Regions from separate parts of the Homo sapiens genome. Here all the other regions are linked to region 1. Evidence: promoter capture Hi-C in human tissues and cell types (Jung and others, 2019). All regions are on one chromosome and are shown on one strand. The core of a region is centred on a gene start or on the middle of the fragment in contact, and the rest is flanking DNA. Distances in the headings are between cores, read along the strand shown. Region 1 holds the start of CSNK2A2 (casein kinase 2 alpha 2). Region 2 overlaps CNOT1 (CCR4-NOT transcription complex subunit 1). Region 3 overlaps CNGB1 (cyclic nucleotide gated channel subunit beta 1). Region 4 overlaps CNOT1 (CCR4-NOT transcription complex subunit 1).

Region 1 (4,371 bases), core at 786-3,285:
GCATGCACCAAGAGTAACAAACACAGTGCTCAGGGAGCCCTTAAATTGAGAGTGGCTTTTCTGTCTTTTGATTACCTATTTATTTTCTAACAAACGGAGCCCTTTTGGAATTTTTGCTTTAGGGAATTTACATTTTAGAACAAACACTTTACTGAACTTAGATTTGTGATGTCTGCACATTTTCTTGAAAGTTCATGGGAAAATGGGGTGGAAAAAGAAGTAATGAAGGGACATCAGATAAATAAAATTTGAGCGTCGGCTGGGCACAGTGGCTCACGCCTCTAATCCCAGCAACTATAGGAGGCCTGCAAGGAGTCCTTTTGGAGGACTGCTTGAGCTCAGGAGCTTAAGACCAGCCTGGGCAACATGACCAGACCCTGACTCTACAAAAAAATTTTAAAAATAGCTGGGCGTGGTGGCATGCACCTGTAGTCCCAGCTACTTGGGAGGCTGAGATGGATCACTGGAGCCCAGGAGTTGAAGGCTGCAGTGAACTATGATCTGCACTCCAGCCTGGGTGACAGAGTGAGACTCTGACTCTAAACAAATAAATTAAATTAAATTCAAGCTTGCATTGCCCATTATAGAATGTGACTGGGGTACCTTACAAACTTTTGCCCTGTGGGGAGGAAAATGTTACATACCACTCATAGGACACTCACCTTCAGGATTTTTACAACCACTCTCTCATTGTTGGTGATATTAATGGCCTCAAATACTTCACTATATTTTCCCCGACCAAGTTTTCGAACCAGTTGGTAATCATCTTGATTACTGTAAAAGGAAGACACACACATAAATGCCAGGACTGGGGGTTAACCAAGCCTATGCCCACTGTACACGTCATTCAGCCGCTTCCACCAGGCAAACACTTGGAAGTGTCTATACATCACGTCACAACTCATTCCCTAAATGAAAGCCACGACATAATCTTGGCTCCCTTCACTCTGCAGAGCTCCTAACCTAATTGGTCTCTCCTAACTTGGGAAGATGGGGCAGGAAGGCAACGCTCTGAGCCAATCCAGAGGGGCGAGCAAAGCACCCGTCCTGAAGGCCTAGAGGGTGCCCCCTGTGCCCCGCGGCTCCCCAGCACCTGCTTCTCGTTTCACATCTTCAAGGTAGACAATGCCTGTTTTAAAAATCTGGACGTCTTTAAGAAATTTCCTCCCACCACCTCATCTCAGAAAACCTAAAAGGCAGGGCATTTTAATAGCTCCAAAGGACAGCTGTTGACTTCCCACCCCAGTGGAAACCCAGAAGTGTGAGGAAGGGCAGCTCCCTCACTTCCACCCGGCGTCGATCCCTGGACCCCACACTTCTCCCCGAGTAAAAAAGCATTCCTTGGGGGAAAGGGGTGCGCAAAGCGGGGAGAAAGGGACGAAACGGGGGTAAAGGGGAGGGAAGAGGAAGACGAGGACATGTGCGAGAGCGGGACCTCTGCCTCCCTGCGGGCCCGCGGAGGGGTCGGCGGGAGACACCACCGGGCCCGAGTGCGGTTCGCAGGGGGTGGCCGGGCGGGGGCAGGGATCAGCGGGCCCGGCGGGGGGCGGCGACGGCTTTACCCCCAGCTCGGGACGTGAGCCTCGTAGTCCCAGTACTCGCGGCTCCTCAGACTGTTCACCTCGGCGTAGACCCGGGCCCTGCTGCCCGCGGCCGGGCCGGGCATGGCGGGCGGGACCGGGGGGCGGCGCGGGGCGCAGAGGGTGGCGGCGGCGGCGCGGCGGGGGACGCGGGGCGTCGGGCGGAGGAGGCAGCGGGCCGCCGGGCGCTGGAGGAGGAGGAGGAGGAGCGCGGCGGCGGGCGGCCGCGCCAGGCCGGGCCCGCGGGGGCGGGCGGGCTGGGGGCGCGGGGGGCGCCGGCCGAGCCGGCCCGGCCCTGGAGCGGCCGGCGGGGCGGCGGGGCGGGCGGCGCTCGCGCTCCGCGGCGGTCTCCGCTCGGCTCGCGGCCCCCAGGAGGCGGCGGCGGCGGCACCGGCAGCGGCAGCCACCGGCCGGGAAAGGGGCAGCGGCGGCGGCAGCGGAGAAGAAGGAGGAGAGGAGGAGGAGGCGGAGGAAACCCGGAAAAGGGGCCGCGCTCACTGGGAGCGGCCGCCGCCCGGCCTGGGGCCGCCCAGGCTCACAGCGCCCCCTGGAGCGCGGGGGGACCCGCCGGGCGGTGCCGGCCCCGCCCCGGCCCCGCCCCGGCACGCCCCGCCGCCTACCTCGCGCCCTCCGCCACCCTCGCCCTCCCGCCGCCACAGGTCGGACTGTCCAAATCGCCTCACCCTCGGGCTGGCTTGACTTCACGCCACAGGAGCCCCCCCTTCCACTGGCCGTTGCCCTAGAGCCCTCGCCCGCGACTCCCGACCCTTTCACTGTCCTTGGAGACCCTATCCCCAGCCCTGCACTCACCCAGCTTTTACCCACCCAACACATCCCATACTGACCCTATTCTGACCCTCCTGTCACCCAAACTGTCAAGTCCCTCCCCAGGGCCTCACTCAAACCTCAGAACCTCCCCCACCTCAATACTTCTCCCTTCCCCCGAGACATACCCCTCCTTCCCCCTCTGGACCCTGCCCTGTTAGGGTAGACTCCTCAGTCCCCAAGGCTTCCTACCCCCGTCATTCAGAGTGCTCCTCACAAAACCTTTCTACACTTCCCCCAAATGCCCTTCCAGAGCCTTCCCTGAATATCCACTTTGGTCACTTGGTTAAGCTGGCATTGACCAGGTTGTGCCACTGCAAAGTTACAATTTTTCCCTTTGTGATTAATAAGTCATTTGTGGGGAGAGACTTTGAGAGTGTAAATCTCCTGTTTGTGTTTAGGAGGAGGGAGAGCAGGAGAATTGCAAATCCGACCTGAAGGGACAGGCTGGGTTGGGGATGTGCCCAGAGTAGGTGGTCAACTGAGCTGGCCTGGCTTCCAGTGCTGCCTGCAGCCTTGAACACCCTTCTCCTTTGATCTTCTAGGCCTTTCTTCTGTCTTCCTTTCCCATCCCTCATCCTTTATCGACAGCACCTCTGCACCCAGTACAGGTTGCTTTCATTCCAGTCCCTTTTCACATTCTGTTTTCTGGATGAAACCCTGGGCCTTCCTGCTTGACACAGCTAAGAGCACAGTCTGTGGAGTCAGATCTATCCAGCACTGCTACTTAGAAGCTGTGTGACCTTAGGGCAATTACTCAACCTCTCTGTGTCACAGATTCTACAGCATAAAACCAGTAATAACGCTCACTTCACAGGGCTGCAAGGAGAATTAAACAAGGTAAACCATGTGAAACACTTAGGATGGTGTTCACTATTAGGATAGCATGTGTTCAATATGATTATTTCCAGGCCTAGGGCCTTTCTCTGCTCATTCCTCCCTCCCTGAGACCACCGTGCATCCGTCTTTTGGTTCCTTCTATCCTCCAAGCTTAACTAGGAGCCACCCCCAACCCCTCCACCCCACCTTCCCAAGGGTGTCTCCTTTTTCCTATTCAAATTTCACCTTTTTCTTTATTAGTAGTATTTTTTTAGAAATAGGGTGTCTCTATATTGCCCAGGCTGGAGTGCAGTGGCTATTCACAGGCATGATCCCACTACTGATCCGAACAGGAGTTTTGACCTGCTGTTTGCCACCTGGCAACCTGGTGGTCCTCCAGCCCCAGGAGGTCATCATAGTTGATGCCAAACTTAGTGTGGACACCTGATTGGCATTGCACACTACAGCCCAGAACTCCTGGGCTCAAACGATCTTCCCACCCCAGCCTCCTGAGGAGTTGGGACTACAGGCATGCCTCCAGCTCAAGTCTCAGCTTAAAGATCACTTTCTCTAGAGTTGATACTTCTCTATCTCAGCACCCTATCCACGTCCTTCATCAAACTGCATATCTTGTCATTATTTGTTTCCTGGGTTATTGTCTGTCCCCTCCTTTGTAAAAACAGCACAAGAGCAAGGACAGAGTGTGGGCGCTCACCACTGACTCTCCCAGCATTTGCCACAGTCAGAGACCTTCAGTAAATACAGTGCTACCCCACAGATGACTTAGGAATTACCAAGGGGAAACGAGGTCACCACCTTACCCATGGTCCAAACTTCTCATCAGTAGGGAACCAACTGATCCTCTGATGTGATGCACTGAGAAGGGACACCTCCCCCATGTGGTCCTCCTGCCAAAACATTTAACCTGAATCTAATGATAAGGACACCATCAGACAAATCCAAGCTGGGCGACATTCTGCCAAACAGCTAGCCTGAGTTCTTCAAAAAGTCAATGTCACTAGGAGAAAGAAAACCAAACGAAACCCTAGATTCGTATTCTTGTTACTGAAGACTTAGAGACATAATTAGATGAAGTGTATGATTCTGAATTAGAGTCTGGATTTTTTTTTAAAGTAGAAAGGAAAGG
Region 2 (3,898 bases), core at 580-3,079, 380 kb after region 1:
TGGACAAAAGAATACTTACTTGCCAAATACATTCTACAAAATTAGAGGTAAAAAGCACAGGGGCTTGAAAGGCATTTCAGCACAAACTGAAATAAAATGTAAATGTTGGATTTAGATAAATTAGAAAAGAGTGCTAATTAAAAATTGCTCTGTGATCTCTCATTTCTTGTGAACATATGACATCAATACCTTCTGCCTCCATGATAGATGTTTAAGCTCCTTCGCATAAAAAGGAAAGTGATGCCCTAGCAATACAGACCTTTCTTAATATTGAAATTATTAAATATTGGCCGGGTGTGGTGGCTCACACCTGTAATCCCAGAACTTTGGGAGGCCGAGGTGGGTGGATCATTTGAGGTCAGGAGTTTGAGACTATCCTGGCCAACATGGTGAAATCCCACTTCTATTAAGAATACAAAAATTAGCTGTGCATGGTGATGCACGCCTGTAATCCCAGCTCCACAGGAGGCTGAGGCAGGAGAATCACTTGAACCCAGGAGATGGAGGTTGCAGTGAGAAAGACTGCACCATTGCACTCCAGCCTGGGCGACAGAGCAAGACACCATCTCAAAAAAAAAAAAAAAAGGAAAGAAAATAAAATTATTAAATATTATTTTGCCTCCTTGCTTTTGGGATCTTGTATTTTATTGCTCACATGATTCTAAAAGATAAAACAAGTTTTATGACAGTATGACTTTTAAAGTCATAATAATTCAGAGATGTAAAAAAAAATTTCTCTGGTTGAGCTTCCTCAACACTCCAAAGAAGATCAATTATTCAGATGAAAAAATGGTAAGCACACGGTCACATCTTACCTGCCCATGCCATGCATAGTGCAAAATAATAGCTGAGTTAGGATGGTTTCCAAGGAAAATTGGCATCAGAGTGGAGATAAGTTCATGGCGCAAGGTATGCCAAGAGGTGTTAATTTGTAGTAAGGCCAATACCAGCATGTCTGGACAGTGTTTGATAGGGAAGCTGAAGAGCTGTTTGACTTGCTCATACTGCCCAACCTCTGCAAGCCTCAGCAGAGATTCAATCAAATCCAAGCTCTTCCTAACGAGAAAGGAAGAAACATGCTTTATCAATGAAAATCCAAGTATACAGATTAATTTTCAAAATAAGTGATACCAGCTTGTAAGCACAAAACCAAGTTGGTGTCATGTTTTAATATTAGAAGTTTGAAGTCCACAGCACTCTCTTTAAGAATTATTTTTGCCCCAAGAGGTTGAAACTGGTTGACTTTAACTGAGCCTGAAGATCTAACTCTATCCTCAGCCCATGAAAACCATGGGGATAGAGAATGAAGTAAACACCATGAGAAAACAGGTAAGAAAATAACATGGGGTAGACTAGAGAACAAATGCTGTATTTCTCTATCAAATCAATGGCAAAAAATAAATTTAAAAGACAGAACAAAGACAGATTTACAGAATAAAAGAAACTATGGACTGCGTCTGGATTCTCAATCATAGAAATTTTTAAAAGACATTTTTGAGCCAATTGGGGAACTTAAATGTAAATAACTACCTATATTAAGGAACTGTTATTTGTTAATGTGATAATGGTATTTAAGCTTTATAAAAATGGAAAGAGCCCTTTATCTGTTCAAATAAAATGAAGAAGAAACACTACTATATACACTAGACTCATAAGGAAAAAAATAAGCAATTTTTCAAATCTAATGTTGGCTACCACCTAAGAAAAGAACACACCACCACCAAAAAAAGTAAAGACAATTATTTGATCAATAACAGAAATGTGTTCTGGGAGGGTATAGATAGAAAAAAATTGAAGATACATTATGAACTAGATCCCTTTGGGGAACAATTCAGGCCGCGCTCTCTCCCTGTAGCCCTGCGTACTTCAAAAATGATCAAAGTACTTGTACCATTCTTTCTTCACACATTCACAGAGAGGAATGACGGGACAGAGTTCCAAGAGAAACCTGATATACACACCAGGCCGGACTAAGATTCTACCTCGAAAATTTGAAACTGGAACTCAGAGAAACTAGATACTTTAGCTGAAAAGCATTAGATTTGGCCAGGTGCTGTAGCTCACACCTGCAATCCCAGCACTTTGAGAGACCGAGGCGGATGGATCACTTGAGGTCAGGAGTTTAAGACCAGCCTTGCCAACATGGTAAAACCTCATCTCTACTAAAAATATAAAACTTAGCCCAGGGCGGTGGTGAGCACTTGTAATCCTAGCTACTCGGGAGGCTGAGGCAGGAGAATCGCTTAAACCGGGGAGGCGGAGGTTGCAGTGAGCTGAGATTGTGCCACTGCACTCCTGAGATTGTGCCACTGCACTCCAGCCTGGGCAACAGAGCGAGACTCCATCCCAAAAATATAAATAAGAAAAGAAAAGAAAACTATTAGATTTGACAGGTTGGCCACCTTGAGCAACTTACAAATAAAAAAAAAAAAAGGCATAAGCTCTACAGAGAAGAAATCTCAATACTAAGGGAGAAAGGAGGAAGTACAAATCTTTCCAACATTTGATACTTTCAGATTTGATGCTTTTAAAAGAACACCTAAAGACAGACCTTACAAGATATAACTAACGATAGAGACTGAAAAAGAATTTATCTACCAACCCCCTCTATAAATACTTAAGATAAGTAAGGTCACTAAAACTACTGCTTCATTTAAACCTGTTAACTATGTACTTGGCTTACTATTAACTTTATATTTCACAAAATAAGAAGTAATCTTTTAAATGAAAGATGAATCAAAGTGTTTACCATGTGGCAATTTCTCGATTGTCATCCTCTGGTGGTGCTTTCAGAATATCAGTGGCAACAGTATGACAGGGATAGTCAGCAAAACAGAAGATCTCTGGATTTATAAGGGAATGTTGAATGAAGGAGAGCTGCAATGAAAGAAAATGCTTACCACCATAAATGATTGTGAATGCTATAAAAATCTGAAATGTTTTCACTAGGCTATTGTCAATCTTAAGGTTATTAGCATGGCAATTTCCCGTTTAAAATCTTAATTATTTGCCCTTTGAAAACCACACATAATTCAGACACATTAAAGGTGCATAATGAAACCCTGTCTGGATTATCAATCATAACAACTGTTAAAAGACATTTCTGAGCCAATTAGGGAAACTTAACGTTGCCTTGGAAATGAACATCATTAAACTATTGGGAAAACACCTTGACTGTTAAAAGACATTTCTGAGCCAATTAGGGAAACTTAACGTTGCCTTGGAAATGAACATCATTAAACTATTGGGAAAACACCTTGACAGTTACACCTTAAAGGAGTCTGCCTAATACTAAAACTATGATAATATTCCTTCAATACTTATGGACAGTCCTTGCTTTTCTGTGCTATGTATAACAAATTCTACTTTACAAGAATATTTCGATCAATGGGTAGATGGCACTACATAAAGAATAAGTCATGTTTTATTCCCCCATCTATAGCTAAATACCACTTACTCACCTGGCCTTCAGCATGTTTCCAAGGTCTATATATGAGGTCTACTGGGAACACTTCCATACCCAAACCCCTCTGAATGCCATAAACCACATTATGAAGTCCTTTACTGTCACGAATTTGAAATCCAGGATGGTCCAGTTCATAAGTTACTTCCTTGAAATTCAAACTTGGATTCTAAAAAAGACCAAAGCAGTTTAAAATGTAATGAATGTGTGTATATTTTGATACATTATCCAAAAGGCCAAATTAAATCTGAAATTCAATTTAGATGTTCTACTTACAAAATTTTTAATGTGAATTTTAAGAAACCCATTCTTTTTTTTTCTTTTTTTTTTTTTAAGACAGAGTCTCACTCCGTTGCTCAGGCTGCAGTGCAGTGGCATGATCTCAGCTCACTGAAACCTCTGCCTCTTTGGTTCAAGAGATTCTCGTGCCTCAGC
Region 3 (4,398 bases), core at 1,149-3,648, 310 kb before region 1:
TTGCAGATGTGAACCACTGTGCAGGGCTATCTTTTAGTTTTTTTGAGACAGGGTCTCACTGTGTCCAGCTCACTGCAGCCAGAAACTCCTGGGCTCAAGCCATCCTCCTGCCTCAACCTCTCCAGTAGCTGGGACTACAGGTGCACACCATCACGCCTGGCTATTGTTTTTTTGTTTGTTTTTGTTTTTGTTTGAGATGAGGTCTCGCTATGTTGCCCAGTCTGCTCTCCAACTCTTGGCCTCCAGTGATCCTCCTGCTTCGGCTTCCCAAAGCACTGGGATTATAGGCATGAGCCACCATGCCCGGCAGTGAAGTATTTTCTATCCTTGAAATGTGTTAGACAAATTCCTGAGGGGAAACCCCACACATTCAATAACACTTTACTTTTTCAGCAAAGCTTCCCATGTATTGGAGCCTCATTTTATCCCTCACCCATGAACTTTAAAAGTGGAAAATCATTTTGTTCTTAAAAAGAGGAACAGTCAGGAAAAGGTAGGGCTCTCAAATGATAGTGAGAGCTCAGGGACTCGAACACTTGATGCAACTTGTCGAGCTCAGGCCCAGCCCCGCGAGGAGCTGAGTCGGGGCTGGCGTGCTGGCGGGACGGTCAGAGCTGCAGCCACTGAGGTCACGACTACGGAAAAGCATCTTCTCTTGAGCCGTGGGGGAAGGTGGGGCGCTGGGGCGCAGGGGCGCAGCGGGCGCTGGGGACACACCTGCTGGAACTGCGCGCGGGATCCGCCTCACCCCACCTTACTCCGCCTTCTCCTCCCTTTCCTCCGGCATCTTCACCGACAGGATCTGCTCTCCCGGCTCCGGGCCCGGGCTCATGCAGATCCTCACCGAGTGCTCTTCGGGCTCGGCCGGCCCCTCCTCCTCTCCCTCCGGCCTCCCAAGGGAGGCAGGCGGTGGAGAGCTCGGTGGAGACCCCGGGGGCTCGGGGGGCGTCCGGGGCGCGGGTGGGTCGGTGGCGGCCTCCTTTGGGTGCGTGTGCTGGTCTGGGGCGGCGGAGCCTTCCTCTCCCTTGACGTCTTGCGAGCTCTTGGCCTGGAATCCAGAAAGGGTGACTCGTGAGGCACAGACTCTCGGAGGGGTCTTGGAAGGGTCTTGGACACCTCCCTGTTCCAGCCTTTTTGGACCCCCAAAGAGGGCAGCGGAACACACAGCGGGTGAAATCTAGTGGGTGGGGTGGAGCCGCATCGGGGTTATTTAGGAGAAACAAAATACATTATGGGGAAGTGTACAGATTAAAAGTCCCGGTTGGATTTCGTGGAAAGTCTTGGGATGTCTTAGATCTAGGCTGTGGGGCTGGAAGCTGGGATGAGGCTGTTGTTTCAAGTTCAGGGCCCCTCCCCCGAGCTATTGAAGCAAGCCAGGCAGTGACTCTGAGGGAGTACCCGCAAGGCCTCTGCAAAGGCTGAACCAACCATCTGTTACCAGGGGTGGGCACTCCTGGAGTGGATGAGAAAAACTCCAAGCAAACAGGGTAAAAAGTGATGAAGGGAGAGGCTGCTGGGGCTGGGCCCCCTTTCTGGGAAGTCTCAAAGGTTGAGATCCTCAGGGATACCCTGGGGCTGGGTACCCCTGCTATTGGGCTGCGCTGACCCCATGTGTGGGGACCTGATGGATACCTCCAGCCTCCAGCCTGTGCTGCCTCCCACAAACGATGGCCATGGTCTTCACATCAGTAGGGGACTGGGTAATTAAATCAAGCCTTTGCGGATACCTGTGGCCCCTCCCACTCTGCCTGACCCCATCTCTGCACGGAAGGAAACTGGAGAGGGAGCAGCCCCCAGAGGAGGCCAGGATGGTCCTCAGCTGCCCAAGACCCATGTGAAGTGGTGTTTGTGAGTTTCAAGTGAGAGCAGTCAATGTGCTTGTGCAGAGAGACCTGCGCCATTTGCTCAAGTCATAGGATATTGAAGGAAAGGAGGAATGGAGAGGGGGCAGCCAAAATGCTCCAAGAACCCAAGGCCTCTCTTGGGACATGCTTCTCCCTCTGTCTCAGTGTTTCCCTATGTTTTGGTGCCCCTGTCCCACCCTCCCCTGTCCACCCTACACTCTATTCTTTTTGTCTTCTTTCTTTCTTTCCTTCTTTCCTTCCTTCCTTCCTTTTTTCCTTCCTTCCTTCCTTCTTTCCTTCCTTCCTCTCTCTCTCTCTCTCTCTCTTTCTTTCTTTCTTTCTTTCTTTCTTTCTTTCTTAGACGGAGTCTTGCTCTGCCACCCGGGATGGAGTGCAGTGGTGTGATCTCAGCTCACTGCAACCTCTGCCTCCCAGGTTCAAGCGATTCTTCTGCCTCAGCCTCCCGAGTAGCTGGGATTACAGGTGTGTGCCATCATGCCTGGCTAAGGTTTTGTATCTTTAGTAGAGATGGGGTTTTACATGTTGGTTAGGCTGGTCTTAAACTCCTGACCTCAAGTGATCTGCCCACCTTGGCCTCCCAAAGTGCTGGGATGACAGGGGTGAGCCACCTGTGCCCAGCCCACCCTAAACTCTTGACAACACATTTCCAGGGCAGGATGCTTAGATGGTGAGCATCGTGGAACTTCCTGAAGCATGGTGCTATGGCTGGAATCAGCAGCTCATGGGAAGTTAGAAAAGTGCTTTGCTGTGTTCAACATGCTTTTCTAAAAGGCCTCCAAGGTAATCCTGCCTGATCTTTATGACCTCATGAGGCAACCCTCAGTAATCCAAGTCTCGGAAAGCTTGAGGGGCTTCCTGGGTCATGGAGCTAGTGGGTGACAGAGCTGGGATTTGGATTTGTGTCTCTGAATGTCTAGTTAAGAGCTCCCTGTACTCTGCCATTCTGCCCTGGTTGTTCTGATTTGGAAGGGAAGTGCCTTTTAATGGAACACTCATGCAAATTTAATTCCCATCTTAAAGCCCCCTTGCTGAAGAGCTACCACTTAGGAGCCACAAGCCCACCCCAGCTGAAGCTCTTGGTGTACTGGGAGCACCCTTGGAGTTCCTGTCTAGTCAGCCCTCACAGCAGCCAGCACTGAAGACCCCCACTTGCCAGCTCCACCTTGACCTTGACAGTTTGTGAGCCAGGCAATCACATCTTTCCTCAGTCTGGGGCCATTGGTGGCTGTATCTGGAGAATGTCTTGGTACCCCAAATGGCTTTGATGTCACTCACCAGACTTCTACTGTCAAACAACATCTGGATGGGTCTCCTGGACTCTGACACCAGGCTGGATTGAGACTGAGTTCACTGGGCTCCTTTGAACTCTGCTGTGTAGACTGTTAAGCCCAGTCTGCCTAACCCCAGTCCCTCTCCAGATCCCCAGCAGACTTCCTAAAGGACAGCCGTGAACAGACATAATTAATGTAATCATTCCACTTGGTATTCTTGGCTTTGGTCACAGAAAAAAGTCCCAGAACTAATTTTAATGTCCCCCATAGGTTTATGGGGGTGGGGACATTTGGCATTTTGCCTGTGTGAGAGGTTTTCACTTTCAAATTTTTATTTTTCATTTTTTGAGACAGGGTCTCACTCTGTCACCCAGGCTGGAGTGCAATGGTGCAATCATAGCTCACTGCAGTCTCGACTTCCTGGGCTCAAGTGATGCTCCCAACTCAGCCTCCCAAGTAGCTAGGACCACAGGCATGTGCCACTAAGCCTGGCTAATTAAAAAGAAAAAAAGAAAAAATTTGTAGAGACAAGTTCTCGCTATGTTGCCCAGGCTGGTCTTGAAATCCTGGCCTGAAGAGATCCTCCTGCCTTGGCCTTTCAAAGTGCTGGGATTACAAGTGTGAGCTACCATGCCTGACCCAAATATCTTAAATTGTCACAGACACAGTATTAAATATGAGGACACACTGTCTTCTGGGGCCGGACATTTGCTTCTCATACCCTCTCCTCTAACCTCTGCAACAGTATCAAGACTGCCTTTTAGAGATCCTGCTCCCAGCCTACTCTCAGTCCAGGGGCGGGTATGTGACCCAGGCCTCTTTAGAGCACCATAGTGCCCTGGCCACACCGAATGGCTCAAGAATTGGCATGTGACCCAATTCTGTCCAATGACAGTGAGTCCTGGAACTTTTGCTAGAATCCCTGGGAAAGAGGTGCTTTCTTTCTGTTGGAGTTGCTATGCCAGGAGGATGTCATCCTAGATAGAACTCTTGAGAACCTGTCTGGAGATAAAACCATCACTGAATAAAGCAGAGATGACACGATGGGAAAACTCGTCCTGTTGGCATCTTTCGGGCTTTTGGATCCAGGCTTGCCTGAACTTTTCGATTACGTGACCCCTAATTCCCGTTTTTCTCAAGCTAATTTGAGCTTGCACTCTGTCACTGGTAACCAAATGAGCCCTGACTGATAGAAAAAGGAGGGGGAAGACCCTAAAACTAAATGTGTGGCCCACTCTTGGAGACCCCTTGGCCTTCTCCCT
Region 4 (4,290 bases), core at 1,619-4,118, 340 kb after region 1:
ATCATTGCTTCATAGTTGGATCGCACTACTTCCATCAGCTGGGGCAATCTAGCACAATAAATAAAGGGTGAAAATCAGTCTCCTCGTAGTTGTGATTTTACAGACATACGCATGTATAGTTTGCTTATTTAACAGCAACCACCAGAGTGGTTTACCACTTCGCTTTACCACTTCCACACTGAAACAAAACTATACTTAGTCTCTTATCCGCTTGCTCATGAGCATACAACACACAAACAACTGCCCTCAGTTAAGCTACTTCTTGCCCAAAAAACGTGTTCATTTAAATGAAACTGATGTTCAGAGTCGACAAATATTCACTGTTTGCCTACTATGTACCATGCTTTCTTTACGTTACTTCTCTTGATTTCCAATAGTTCTTTGAGAAATTATTTCCATTTTCTATAAAGAATAGGTTTAAGGAGGATAAGTCAATTTGCCTAAAATCAGAAAGCTTTTAAGTGGCATGACCAGGGCTTAAACATAGGACTCTGACACTAAGTCTGGTACCGTATGTACTGCTCTGTGCCAAGAAGACTTGGCAGTCAATTAGGCTTTCATACTTCAAGTGACAATATTAGCCCTTACCAAAGCTACCCACCCATATGTGGTTGGTAAAGCAGTTATAACAAGTAATGTTAGTAAGTCTGCATATTCATTCCTAAAGATATTAGAAGACTACTAAATGCACAGGGATCTCAAAGCATTTCATCCTCACCCTTCTGGAGCATTGCCTCTGGAATGAGCATTAATCCTCATGAGGGTTTCAATGGTGTGGAACAGATCTGCCTCAGTAACATGAGCAACACTCCTTTCATCCACCAGCAGGATTTTTACTAACTGCATAGCAAATGCCACAGCCATGTAGTTTAAGCCATTCTCCATTGACTGGCAACACAGAAAACATAATGTGAGAGGGAAAACACTTAAGAGCAAACGTACTTCCCTGAGTCCTTTTGTCCGTGCAAGTAAATTCCTTCCATACCTGCGCTAGGTGAAGATCATACTGCTGCATATTAACCAAATGATTGCGAATTAGCAGCTCCACAGCCTCCACATTATATTTATATTCATCTCGACATTCAATTAGGCACCTAGAAAAAGTTCAATATCTTTACTCATATAGGCTTAACCATACTGTAAAAGGGCCCATTTTACTCAATGGAAATTTGCTCCAAACTAAGAATGCCTTGAGATTCAACTCCAAATCAGTGTCCAAATTTAAAAACAGCCAGTAATGAAATAGAACAGATAGCCCAAGCTTTCCTTTCAAATCCTAGGATACAGAGTATTCCATTTAAGACATTAAAATACTTATACACGAATACCACTTCTGAGAAATCACTGTAACCTTTTAAAACAATGACCTACAATTTATTCCCCAAAACAAGGTACTGGTTTTCTATATCCAACATGGGGAGAAGGTAGAGACCAGATGGAAAACAACTACTTAACAATTCTCACCTCTCAGAAGTAGGAAGTCTAAGTGTCCGACCTACCTACTAGAAAAAAGGGAAACCCCTGGACATAAACAGTACTATCTATGTCAAAAGGCAGTCGCAGTCCAATACTCACTACTTTTCGAAGATGGCTACTGACCTTGTGATCTGTTTGTTGCACCATGGAGACCCATATGCCCGGCCATCCTGCAGAGCTTTTAGGACCAAGAGGTGGCATTCCCTGTAGCGCAGCAGAAGGTCAGCATCAGCACCACTTGTGGCATCTAGTAAGCCCTCTACAGCCTATGGGAGAAAGAAAGCGTTCAAAACCATGAAAAATACAGTGCTTGGCCCAACTATCACAGCCAGAAACCAAATCTCAATGCCAAGTACCAAATACCTTCCAAAGCCTCCCTGTCCTTTCCACTCTCCAAACATCCCTTTCAGTTGCCTATCACACACACTCTAAATTCTATCTGATTTAAGTTCATTCTGTGCTCTTCATTGTCATAAAAGGCTCTGCTGTAGTTAAAATCCAGGGCTCCCTACCTACCCTGATCCAAATTATTGGATCAACTTGTCCCTCAAAATCTAAAGGGCAGCTGGGCTCAGTGGCTCATGTCTATAATCCTAGCGCTTTGGGAGGCTCAGGAGGGAGGGCCACTTGAGCCCAGGAGATTGAGAACGACCTGGACAACAAAGCAAGACCTGTCTCTACAAAAAAATTAAAAATTAGCTTGGCTTGGCAGTGAGCACCTGTAATACCAGCTACTCGAGAAGGTGATGTGGGAGGTTCACTTAAGCCCATGATCACATCACTGCACTCAAGCCTGACAGAGAGAGACCCTGTCTCTTACACACACACACACACACACACACACAGACACACACACCCCTCTAAAGGGCTACCTTTTAAAGTTTCTTCAAATCACATTTCCAGAATATCTTTAAGAAAAAAAATGAAGATTTCCAAGTTTACCATTCAAAACTGCCATGACTACATTCTACGTTGGAAAAAAAAAAAATCACCTACTTACAGAACTTGATTTATATTATGAAATCTTAAGCATAACTGCATAAATATGTAGATGGTGGTGCAGGTCAATAAATGTTTACACACCTAGCATTTTCTAAAAGTAATAGCTTAAGAACCAACCTTTTGGAGCAATCCAAGAGCAGCTATGGCATCCCGAGAGTTTCGAGATAAAACTACAACCTCCAAGAGACTTCGAAGAGCCTGAGCTTGAGGGTTCATGGCCAAAGTTGGTGGGATGGCATGTAGATGTTGCTCCAGTTCTGTAATACACTTATCATAAATCTGAGCTACATCATCTGTTGCCCAAGCTTGCTGTTTTACAGAAGGAAACAACCAACAAGAGACAAAAGAATGTTAAGGTTTTTTATTGACACATGTATCAAATAGAGGTCTACTAGTATGTTTACTCCCTTTTTCTTATTTTTACATTCAAACATGGAGGGCCTCTTCTTTTCCTTCTTCCTGAGCTATTCAGAATTAATACCATCAAGTGGCACAGTACAAGGCAGGCATAAGGGAAGAGGTGTTTCATTTGAGAGAGGAAAACCTGGCAGACAGCAGCATAATCAAGTGATAAAAGAGAGCATTAGTAACAATGAGACAGACTGAGGGCAGCACCACTTGTACCATCTACTAAGCCCTCTATATCCTAAGAAAGTAAGTGTTTCAAACCATGAAAAATACAGTACTCAGTCCAACTGTCAAAGCCTGATAGGATAGAGTAAGAATACAGCATTACTTCTGAGCTATTCCTATTTTTAAAAACACATTACCTGAACCTAGTCATGAGAATACACTGGACAAACAAATCAAGTCATTTAGAAAATAATTAGCCTATAATATTCAGAAGTGTTATGGTCATGAAAGATGAGGAAAAACTGAGTTACCTACACCAGCTAGAACTGAGGGAGACTTTAAAAATATGACAACTGAAGAAATGTGTGATTCTAAAACAGGTCTTTTACTATACATTATTGGGATACATGGTGAAACTCGAGTGAGGTCTATGAATTAGATGGAGTAAGGTTATTAGTATTCATTTCTGACCTTAATGGTTGTACCATGGTCACACAGGAAAAGGGTTTTTTAAGAAATACAAACCAAAGGAAAAAGGTTTTGTAAGAAATACAAACCAAAGGATTCAGGAGCGATGGGGGTATCAGGTCAGCAACTTACTATCGACCGGTTCGGGGGAAAATATTTTTCCCTATATTTCCAAGTTTTCTGTAAACACCTTTGAAAATTTTAGAAAATTCTTTTATTTAAAAAATGGGAAGGCTGGGCACAATGGCTCAGGCCTGTAATCCCAGCACTTTGGGAGGCCAAGGTAGGCGATCACTTGAGGTCAGCAGTTTGAGTCTAGTCTAGGCAACATGGCAAAACCCCATCTTTACAAAAAATACAAAAATTAGCTGAGCATGGTGGCACACGCCTGTAGTCCTAGCTCCTCAGGAGGCTGAGGTGGGAGGATCGCTTGAGTCTGGGAGGTGGAGGTTGCAATGAGCTGAGATCGCGCCACTGCACTCCAGCCTGGGTGACAGAGAAAGACCCTGTCTCAAAAAAATAAATAATAAAATTTAAAAATAAAAAACCGAAAGTTATTATGTTACCATGAGAATTCCCCTAATTAGGCCGAACATTAAAGTTAAATCACCCACACCCATGTCAATTTTTCTTTAATCCCCTGTATGTCATACTTAATTGGACACAAAGAATACCTACAACTCAAAAACTATAGGTGTTTTTTCCCCTGTAAATTATTCTCCCAGGAAGCAAGTCAAAAACATATATTAAATGTCAAAAACATTTAAATTA

What was found. The method cuts DNA at HindIII sites, captures the fragments that hold promoters and counts their contacts. A contact is called where the count stands out against the background at its distance.
Region 2: a contact is called between a fragment that was not itself captured here and the fragment with the promoter of CSNK2A2 in region 1, in 1 of the 25 tissues and cell types used here (pancreas).
Region 3: a contact is called between a fragment that was not itself captured here and the fragment with the promoter of CSNK2A2 in region 1, in 2 of the 25 tissues and cell types used here (liver and spleen).
Region 4: a contact is called between a fragment that was not itself captured here and the fragment with the promoter of CSNK2A2 in region 1, in 4 of the 25 tissues and cell types used here (adrenal gland, bladder, dorsolateral prefrontal cortex and 1 more).

What each region holds. Positions count from the first base shown.
Region 1 is chr16:58,196,071-58,200,441 of GRCh38, forward strand. CSNK2A2 (casein kinase 2 alpha 2) reads right to left here and starts at 2,036. Exons shown (of 12, transcript NM_001896.4): 1 at 1,563-2,036; 2 at 663-774. The coding sequence starts at 1,666. It also overlaps the pseudogene RN7SL645P. RefSeq lists silencers at 1,470-1,539, 1,940-2,209, 2,260-2,389. The HindIII fragment of the contact is 10,880 bases long and covers 1-4,371 here.
Region 2 is chr16:58,577,884-58,581,781 of GRCh38, forward strand. It overlaps CNOT1 (CCR4-NOT transcription complex subunit 1), which reads right to left. Exons shown (of 49, transcript NM_016284.5): 11 at 3,462-3,632; 12 at 2,750-2,877; 13 at 816-1,056. Among named protein-coding and RNA genes, the nearest start is that of SNORA50A, 20 kb to the left of the region's middle. The HindIII fragment of the contact is 5,349 bases long and covers 1-3,898 here.
Region 3 is chr16:57,883,410-57,887,807 of GRCh38, forward strand. CNGB1 (cyclic nucleotide gated channel subunit beta 1) reads right to left here. Exons shown (of 33, transcript NM_001297.5): 33 at 1-1,048. The coding sequence ends at 755. Among named protein-coding and RNA genes, the nearest start is that of KIFC3, 83 kb to the left of the region's middle. RefSeq lists enhancers at 178-725, 726-1,273. The HindIII fragment of the contact is 6,440 bases long and covers 1-4,398 here.
Region 4 is chr16:58,537,173-58,541,462 of GRCh38, forward strand. CNOT1 (CCR4-NOT transcription complex subunit 1) reads right to left here. Exons shown (of 49, transcript NM_016284.5): 35 at 2,596-2,787; 36 at 1,600-1,742; 37 at 986-1,094; 38 at 719-888; 39 at 1-48. Among named protein-coding and RNA genes, the nearest start is that of SNORA46, 9.3 kb to the right of the region's middle. The HindIII fragment of the contact is 7,254 bases long and covers 1-4,290 here.